Regions from separate parts of the Homo sapiens genome. Here region 2 is linked to region 1. The links are contacts of gene promoters, found by promoter capture Hi-C in human tissues and cell types (Jung and others, 2019). All regions are on one chromosome and are shown on one strand. The core of a region is centred on a gene start or on the middle of the fragment in contact, and the rest is flanking DNA. Distances in the headings are between cores, read along the strand shown.

What was found. Contacts are between HindIII fragments. The study calls those that stand out against the background at their distance.
Region 2: the fragment with the promoter of RPL3 here is called in contact with the fragment with the promoter of PICK1 in region 1 in 2 of the 25 tissues and cell types used here (heart left ventricle and mesenchymal stem cells).

What each region holds. Positions count from the first base shown.
Region 1 is chr22:38,054,298-38,059,085 of GRCh38, reverse strand. PICK1 (protein interacting with PRKCA 1) reads right to left here and starts at 1,682. Exons shown (of 13, transcript NM_012407.4): 1 at 1,499-1,682; 2 at 1,236-1,333. The coding sequence starts at 1,276. RefSeq lists enhancers at 981-1,604, 1,849-1,908, 1,605-2,230. The HindIII fragment of the contact is 14,484 bases long and covers 133-4,788 here.
Region 2 is chr22:39,317,244-39,321,696 of GRCh38, reverse strand. It overlaps RPL3 (ribosomal protein L3), which reads left to right and starts at 2,074. Exons shown (of 10, transcript NM_000967.4): 1 at 2,074-2,102; 2 at 3,105-3,297; 3 at 4,068-4,236. The coding sequence starts at 2,100. It overlaps SNORD43 (small nucleolar RNA, C/D box 43), which reads left to right and starts at 2,584; the gene lies at 2,584-2,645. RefSeq lists enhancers at 417-1,305, 1,470-1,889, 1,306-2,195, 2,280-2,329, 2,196-3,085 and 3 more. The HindIII fragment of the contact is 19,716 bases long and covers 1-3,072 here.

The DNA.
Region 1 (4,788 bases), core at 433-2,932:
ACAGCTCTTGGAGTTAAGCAGATGTGGGATCAAACCCCAGCTCTGCCATTTATCAGCTGTGGAACTTGGTTTTTTTTTGAGATGGAGTCTTACTCTTGTTGCCCAGGCTAGAGTGCAATGGCGCAATCTCGGCTCACTGCAACCTCCGCCTCCCGGGTTCAAGTGATTCTCCTGCCTCAGTCGCCCAAGTAGCTGGGACTACAGGTGCCTGCCACCACGCCTGGCTGATTTTTTTGTATTTTTAGTAGAGACGGGGTTTCACCATGTTGGCCAGGCTGGTCTTGAACTCCTGACCTCAGTTGATCCGCCTGCCTCAGCCTCCCAAAGTGCTGGGATTACAGGCGTGAGCCACCGTGCCTGGCCAGCTATGGGACTTGGGTAAGTCAGCCTCTGTGCATCTCAATTTCCTCATCCATAAAATGTGGATGAGCACCCTTATCAGAGTTCTTCTAACCATGCATGGAGGGCACTAACAGCAACCCAGTCCATAGCAGGCACTCCATAAAAATAGGTCCCCCTTCCCTTTCATTTATTCGATCTCTGAGATTTGAGCCAGGTTCTGTCCTTGTCACCTTATCAGGCATCTATGTAGTATGATGGCCACCTACTCCAGGGAGTCTTCCTCTATTAAACTGTCCACCTCCCACCTCTCAACTGCTCGATTACCTCTCGGTTTCCACTATAAATTAGCATTGACTGGTGTTTTATGATAAGTACTCACGCTGATTCACTTATTCATTCAAAAAACATTCGCTAACAACCTACTGACGTCAAGTCCCTTACTAAGTGCTGAGCATAGAGAAAGGCATTGCACCCACTCCTTGATCTGAAAGAGGATATATTCTAATGGGAAAATCTGTCCTACTAACAACCTATGTTGGGAAGGAAGGGTGTCTACAATATTCCTATTCAACCTTCAAAACCTGGTTCAATTGCTACGTCCTCCATGAAGCTTTCCTTGACCATCCCAGCAGAAGCACTGCTCCATCTGCTTTGCTCTTCTTGTCACCAAGTCATGCTAATAGTGCCCTTATGGCACTGAGCTGTGATTATCCCTTTAACTGTCCACAGCCCCCTACAAATAGTGAGCTCCTGGGAGAGCAGGGTCCATTGCTGCTTCAGTACAACAACTGATCCACCGCTGAGAAGCAAGGGTCTGTGGGACTGGGAAGTCCAGGGAAATGAGGAACTTGGGGCTCCTATACTGCTGGAACTTGGGGGAATAAAATACTCACAGTTTATCCTCTTCGATGTCATAATCCAAGTCTGCAAACATGGTTCCGAGAGTTGGAGTGGGCTGGCTAACTGCCCAGCTCGGTAGGGGAATGGGGAACTGGATCCGGGAGAGAAAGGAGCATAGGATTTAAGGAACCCAAGTGCCTAAATGCCAACGCCACCCCTCCCTCCACCACCTCATACGGGACAGCAGTGCCCTCCTCTTCCCTCTGGAGTGGGATGGGACAGTCTCCGGGTGGGGGGCTGGGTAGGTGATTCTTACTAGGTACAAAGGGGGGCTCCAGGCCAGGGCGATAGGCTCAGATCCCAGAGTCCGCCCCACGGGTCTCCAGGCCCTGGGGAGCTGCCTCTGTCGCTCACCGGAAGCGTTGGTCCCACAGCCGGGTCCCGGCCAGGCTGGTACCTGAACCCACCTGCCGTTCCACCTGGCGGTGGCCGCGATTGTCACGTCACTTCCGGCAAGACGCGGAAGTCCCGGCTTTCCCCCCACTGGATATTTGCTCCAATCCCTGCAGACAATCCTTCCCTTCCCGGCTCCCGGGACGCTCGGAACCAAGAACGAGAACAAGTATTGGCGGAAGCTCGCTGTTAGTAGGAACAAGCGAAAACAGAGGAACGGTCTGGACAGGCTGACAGCGTCTAACCCCGCCCTTTGCCCTGCCGCCGCCGCCATCTTGGGAAGGGCAGGGTTTGTCCCAGCTTCCTCAGCTGCACTCAGGGGCCCGCGCCGGCCCGGCGGTTGCCATGGCAACGAAAGCATCCCTGAGCCGGGGTTACCTCCGGCGAGGCTCAGTGGACTATAAACCCCAAGACATCATGCCCTTTCACCCCTTCACCACCTGGGCCTGTGACTCCCCTACTAGAATGGCCCTTTGAGGTCCCAGCCCATCCCAGTTTCGCCAACTTAAGTGCCAAAGAGCGGGGAGTGATTTTGTGCGGGGCCACACACAGTTGGTGTAAGATCTGGATCGTGGCCCTGAAACTCCCGCCGCCTAGTCTAGGGATCTTTGAACGTCCAAACACTAAACAGAGAGCCAGGAGAGGTGTATTCAGTGGGTCTTGCTATTAAGGACAGACTGGACATGCTCCCTTCCCTTTATGTGCCTCAGTTTCCCCATATGTAAACCAAGGCCATTGAGGTAAATGCTTTCTATGGTATATGGTGAAAGGTTTCTCACACCCCCTCCTCCTTCCTTAGTCCTGAGGAGCAGCCCCCCTGGGGTCCCAGGGAGGGTCACGGTCCGCATGTACCTGAGGCTCGGGAAATGCTATCAGTGCTCCCCAGAGTCCGAATCTTGTCTCCTCGCCAGCCTCTGCTGCCACTGCTATTGTGTAAAGTGGGTTCCCTGGGGGAGGTTGGCTCTCCCAGAGCCACAGCCAGGCATCCACCTCATCCGGCAGCATGGGGCCAGGCCCATCCAGCTTGCTTCCCCAGCTGCCCCAGGAGCCATGGAAGAAAGATACAGAAGGATGATTATCCACATATCCCACGGCCGGTGGAAGCCCCGCCCTACTCTCTCCTTAGGTGGCTAATTGAGTCCGGACAGATGTGCAGAATGCCGTGACAATAACAGCCTTCCCACGTGTCCACTGCTCTCCTGTGAGATCACTTTCACAGGATTTGAAAGCTCACCACCACCCTGTGAGAGAAGACCAAATCTTGCCAGCCACATTGTGCAGGCAAGGAAACGGAGGCCCTGGGAAGCCTCTTCCTCTGGTATCATAGCGGCAGGGCTGGGGCTGGGAAAACCAAGCTCTGTTTCCAGGCCAGAATTTTGGTTTCAAAAAGCAGCAGTCTAAGGCCAGGTGCGGTGGCGCACACCTGTAATTCCAGCTATTTGGGAGCCTGAGGCAGGAGAATCGCTTGAAAATAGGAGAGGGAGGTTGTAGTGAGCCGAGATCAGGCCATTGCACTCCAGCCTGGGCGACAGAGAGAGACTCCGTTTCAAAAAAAAAAAAGGCAGCAGTCTCCAAACCCAGGTGCCTTAACATGGATTGTGGCTCTTCCAGCCCATGACCATGCTAGCTCAGGCCCAGGCTCTGCCATTTTGTAGCTGGGAGATCTTGGGTGAGTCGCTGTCTCACTCTGAGCCTCAGGTACGTGTAGAATGGGGAAATGACACCTGCCACCAGGTATTTGTGAAAGTCAAGATTAAAAGGAGAGGCTGGGCGCGGTGGCTCACGCCTGTAATCCCAGCACTTTGGGAGGCTGAGGAGTGTGGATCATGAGATCAGGAGTTGGTATAAGATCTAGATCATATATCTGGACCAGCCTGGCCAACATGGTGAAACCCCGTCTCTACTAAAAATGCAAAAATTAGCCAGGCATGGTGGTATGCACCTGTAATCCCAGCTACTCAGGAGACTGAGGCAGGAGAATCGCTTGGACCCGGGTGGCGGAGATTGCAGTGAACCGAGATCGCGCCATTGCATGCCAGCCTGGGTGACAGAGCCAGACTCCATCTCAGAAACAAAAGATTAAAAGGAGAAACAGGTGTGAGTGCTTTGTAAACAATTTGCATGGCACAGCTGTCACTCTGACCTCAAAACCCCCTACCCACTCTGGCCCTTCTTCTCAGGTTGGGGAAGATGCCCCTGTTTTCTGCCTTGTTCATCCCTTGCCTGCAGGCTCCGCTCTAATTCACCTCTTCCCGGCAGCCTTAGCAGACAATCTCAGCTCATATATCTTGCTCCCTTTTCTGAGCTGAGCTCCTGAGCAGTTGCTATTTGAATCATTTGTTCAGCAATTTGCTGTGTATTTGCCTTGTGAAATCTCTTCATGGTTTTCCTGAGCCAATTCTGCAGTGATTAATTTATTACATGCTTGTATTTTGTCTGGCAAGGTTTTTATCCCCTTTAAATTTGGGGCTTACAGCTCATAGCTACGCCTGGCTAATTTTTGCAATTTTTTTCTTTTCTTTTCTTTTCTTTCTTTCTTTTTTTTTTTCTTTGAGATGGAGTCTCCCTCTTGTCGCCCAGGCTGGAGTTAAGTGGTGCGATCTCAGCTCACTGCAACTTCTGCCTCCCGGGTTCAGGCGATTCTCCTGCCCCAGCCTCCTGAGTAGCTGGGATTACAGGCGCCCACCACCATGCCCGGCTAATTTTTTGTATTTTTAGTAGAGACGGGGTTTCACCATGTTGATCAAGCTGGTCTCGAACTCCTGACCTCAGATGATCCACCCACCTCAGCCTCCCAAAGTGCTAGGATTACAGTTGTGAGCCACTGCACCTGGCCTTTTTCTCAACTTACTTTCTAATCTCTGGCACCCCCATCTTCCATAGTATACTTAGAATCCATCAACAGGTGTCATTGTGACAGACAAGAAAAAGGAAATCAGATTGCTTTGTAATACTGTTGGTGTGAAAATGTCACAACCTGCTTAGCTTTTTTAGCAGAGGGGGTCACTGGAATCAGCCCACACAGCAGAGGAACATGTCCCAGTCAATTGAGGGGGTCTGGTTGGGACCAGGAATCTATTTGAGGGAAAAGAAAGTTCAAGTACCTTATTCTATCACCCAAGTAAGCACTTCTTGTTTTTCCAGCTGGACAGG
Region 2 (4,453 bases), core at 825-3,324, 1.3 Mb before region 1:
ACGATCTCGGCTCACTGCAACCTCTGCCTCCCGGATTCAAGCAATTCTCCTCCCTCGGCCTCCGGGGTAGCTGGGACTACAGGCGTGCACAACAACTGCTAATTTTTGTATTTTTAGGAGAAACGGGGTTTCACTGTGTTGGCCAGGCTGGTCTCAAGTTCCTGACCTCCAGTGATCCACCCTCCTCAGCCTCCCATAAGTGATGGGATTACAGGTGTGAGCCACCGTGCCTGGCCTGTATCCTGAAATTTTAAAAACCTTCTTAAATTATTTGGCAGCAAAAAGTAAACTGATGCATTTTTTGAGCAGCAAAGTCAGCCTTGAACTGATGTGAGTCTATTTATATTTGTCCCACTCCATGTGAATATTCATGTTTCCTTACGGAATATTGTTTTTCTTTAAAAAGTGCTGTATTACATAATATACAGTATGTGCACCATATTACCTTTCTAAAAATCAAAAAATGCTCAATTTTGAAACATATGTGGCCCCCAGGATTTCTAATAATGGATTGAAGATCTATCACTTATGTCCTTCGGGAATGGTGTGAGGATTGAGATAATTTTTTTTTTTTTGAGCTGGATTGCACTGGCGCAATCTCAGCTCACTGCAAACTCCGTCTCCCGGGTTCAAACGATTCTCCCGCCTCAGCCTCCCAAGTAGCTGGGATTACAGACGCACACCATCGTGCCCCGCTAATTTTTGTATTTTTAATAGAGACGGGGTTTCGCCATGTTGCCCAGGCTGGTTTCGAACTCCTGACCTCAGGTGATCCGCCCGCCTCGGTCTCCCAAAGTGTTGGGATTACAGGCGTGAGCCACCGCGCCTGGCCGAGAGAATGCTTTTCAAACGACGGTGGGAGCAAAGGCCAGGCCCAGAATTAAAGAAGATGACAGGGTGGGACAGAGGAAGCAGGTGATATGAGAGCGTGTGCTCTGGCGCAGCCATGAGGCTGAAGTAGACGGTTAGGGGAGCGTCTTTGGTGGCCGCTGAAGTTGATGCTTAATTCCGAGGAAACAACGAGGCGGCCATGGAAAGTAACGAGATACTTGATTCTTAGAAAGATTTGTAGGGGGCCAGGCGCGGTGGCTCACACCTGTAATCCCAGCACTTTGGGAGGCCGAGGCGGGCGGATCACGAGATCAGGAGTTCAAGACCAGCCTGGCCAACATGGTGAAACACCGTCTCCACTAAAAATACAAAAAAAAAAAAAAAAAAAATTAGCCAGGCATGGTGGCGCATTCCTGTAATCCCAGCTACTCGGGAGGCTGAGGCAGGAGAACTGCTTGAACTGGGAACCGGTAGGCGGAGCTTGCAGTGAGCTGAGATCGCGCCACTGCGACAGAGCGAGACTCCGTCTCAAAAAAGAGATTTGTAAGGGACCAGCCTGGAAGCAGGGAATCGGTCAGGATCCGAGTCACCCTGGAGCCTAGGCAGAGATCAGCGAAAGCCCTCGCTGATGCATAGGTCTGGAAGGCGTGGGGCTCCGGGAGGCTGAGCAGCTGGACTCGGCATGACCAGAGGTCGTGAGGCCGTTCCGCAGGCTTGGGACGCTCCTGACCCTCAGAATCAAGCGCGGGCCACTGCATTAGCATGGGAGAAATGGCAGAGATAGGGCTTGAGGGAGGGATGCCCGAGATTAAAGGTATTAAAGGTAAATTGGTGTCGCCGCAAAACCAGCGTGGGAGCCAGGAAACGAGAGTTTCAGTCTTTCTTCGCTAATTCCAGAGATAGCTGCATATCACAGGAGGAGAAGCGACGCAGCCATTTTTCTTCGTTATTATCAAATTTGGCTGCTGCCGGACGCCGTAGATTTGTGGCTCACCCACCCTTAGCCCACCTCTCCGCGGCTTTTCACTAAGTTTGAACCCGACCCCTCGCCGTAGAGTGTGTAATTTCTGTCTCCGAAGCTGACGTCAACTTCTGAACGAAAGCTAGGAGCGGAAGAGCGTGCGTGGAAATGGCGCTCGGTACGTGCCCCCGACCTGTCGTCTGCCGCGGGGGCGCGCTCGCACGCCGGAAGGGGCGGGGCCAGATTTGGCTTTATATAGCGGACCCGTAAGGCCGACCGGCCTCTACCGGCGGGATTTGATGGCGTGATGGTATGTGTTGTAATGGCGGCCGTTTCATTGTCACCGGCGTCGGCACGGCTGAATCCGCGACGCATCGCCGCCATCCCGTCTTGGCCGGCGCCGGGGGTTTGCTTTAGGGGCACGGGCGACCCAGCGGGGACTTCAGTCTGGCCTATTTTCTGGAAAGTCGAGAGGCTTGTGAAGAGCGCTTGGAGGACTGGCTTTGGGCCTGCAGGTCGGCCAGAGAGAGGCCGTAAGGGTGGGAGCAGGCTTGGAGGCCCGGCGTTTTTAAAGCCATGAGTCATTTCTAAGTTTCGACCTCACCAATTCTATCATTAGTTGGGATTAGGGCCCATAACCTGCTTGTCTGGGTAGAAGGACCTTGGGTGGAGGTTCTCGGCGCCGTTCTCATTGGGAGGTAAAGAAGCTTGGGGGAGGGGAGTGTTGTGGAGTCCTCCTGAATATCTGGGGCCGCTGGTGCACTCCGAAGGCCTCTGGAGCTCGCAGAAACCACAGATGATGAACTTATTGACGGGCGGACAGAAACTGTGTGCTGATTGTCACGTTCTGATTTGGCTCTGCGGAGTTCTTTGGCCTGTGTGTATCAGTGTAATTAGTGTCCGGGCACCGGAGGCAGCCTATAGCTTAACATTGCTAGCTGCTACCCAGCGTTTGTCCCGGGAGTCCCTTTCTTTAGCGGTCAAAACCTTGCTAATTGGCATATAAAGCTGCCTGTTAAGCAGTTTTTAGTGCCACTACTTAGTGTATTTTTGTGTGGTTAGATAAAAAAAATGGGTCGTTTTCTTACAGGTTGAGAGGATTTGAAATAAGATTCAGCTTAAATTTTGTCGAATACAAAAGCATTCTTGACACGTGCGAGCCTGGAAGAGATAATGACCTTTTTATTCGGCTTGCTGGGTGTCTGGTCAGGATTCTTCAGTATTGCTGAGATTTGGAACTTAAGCAGCTGGGAACTAGAGAAGGGGGCACTGCTTTGGTTTGGGTGCTGACGGTGATTTTTTTCCCACCTAGTCTCACAGAAAGTTCTCCGCTCCCAGACATGGGTCCCTCGGCTTCCTGCCTCGGAAGCGCAGCAGCAGGCATCGTGGGAAGGTGAAGAGCTTCCCTAAGGATGACCCGTCCAAGCCGGTCCACCTCACAGCCTTCCTGGGATACAAGGCTGGCATGACTCACATCGTGCGGGAAGTCGACAGGCCGGGATCCAGTATGTACAGACATCCTAAAAGTTGGGGGAATAGGAGTGGAGGGGGAGGGAAATTGTAGAGATGGAGTCAAGCTGTTAGCAGAGGGCAGACTTTTTTTTTTAAGCAGGAGTTACACGTTGTCAGAACTGCTGCGACAGCAGAATGGGAATGCTTAACTTGAAAACTAATATTCCAAGGCTACAGATGGTCAGCACTGTTTGCTTTAGGTGCGGTGTGGGGTATTGATTTCAGAGCATAGTAAATTTGCCAGGAACCTTAGCAAAGAGAAGTTAACACTAGTGTGGGGGGTTGGAGCTGCTGAGGCTGGCATAAGAACTGCCTCATTCATGTTTTTTTCACCTGAAAGCTTGAATAATGGCCACTTACCTGTGTGTGTTCTACTTAGAGATGTCTAACAGCACTGGTTGCTGAGCCATGGAGACATTAATGTTAGGCAGTTGATACTGACTAATCTCTGAGCTCAGAGCTATTGTTAGGGCACTGAATTTTCCAGATAAATAGCAATCTTGTCTGCCTCCAGAGGTTTCTGTAGAAGAGAATTGAAGCTGGACAGGTATTTGGCTGTCTAGGGTCCTGATATTTTTTGTTTGAATAACATAAATGTGCTTTGAATGAGAGATAGGCAGTAAGGACAGCCCTGTGAGTCCGTACTGCAGGTGTGGGGCCCAGTTGCCCTTCCGGCCTAAATGGGCACTTTGCATTTTCCTAGAAAACATTACACCCCTTGCTTGGGCTCCTGCCAAGTCTGACTACTGCTTTTTTTTTGCAGAGGTGAACAAGAAGGAGGTGGTGGAGGCTGTGACCATTGTAGAGACACCACCCATGGTGGTTGTGGGCATTGTGGGCTACGTGGAAACCCCTCGAGGCCTCCGGACCTTCAAGACTGTCTTTGCTGAGCACATCAGTGATGAATGCAAGAGGCGTTTCTATAAGAATTGGTAAGGGAGGAGGCCATGCAGTCCCTAGCTTGGGAGCTTGGGAGCTGGAGAGCAGGGAGCAGCGTGTGCATGGTTTCTCAGCTCTGTAGCAGGCAGGGAGCTGCTGTCTTGGGTTTAGTTTGCCTCTCGAACAGAAAAATACCTGGGATCAGACTTGGCCAGCCATCTGGTTTCAGCCGGAAGCTAACACCCTCATTCTGAGTCCAGGCTAGTGGGT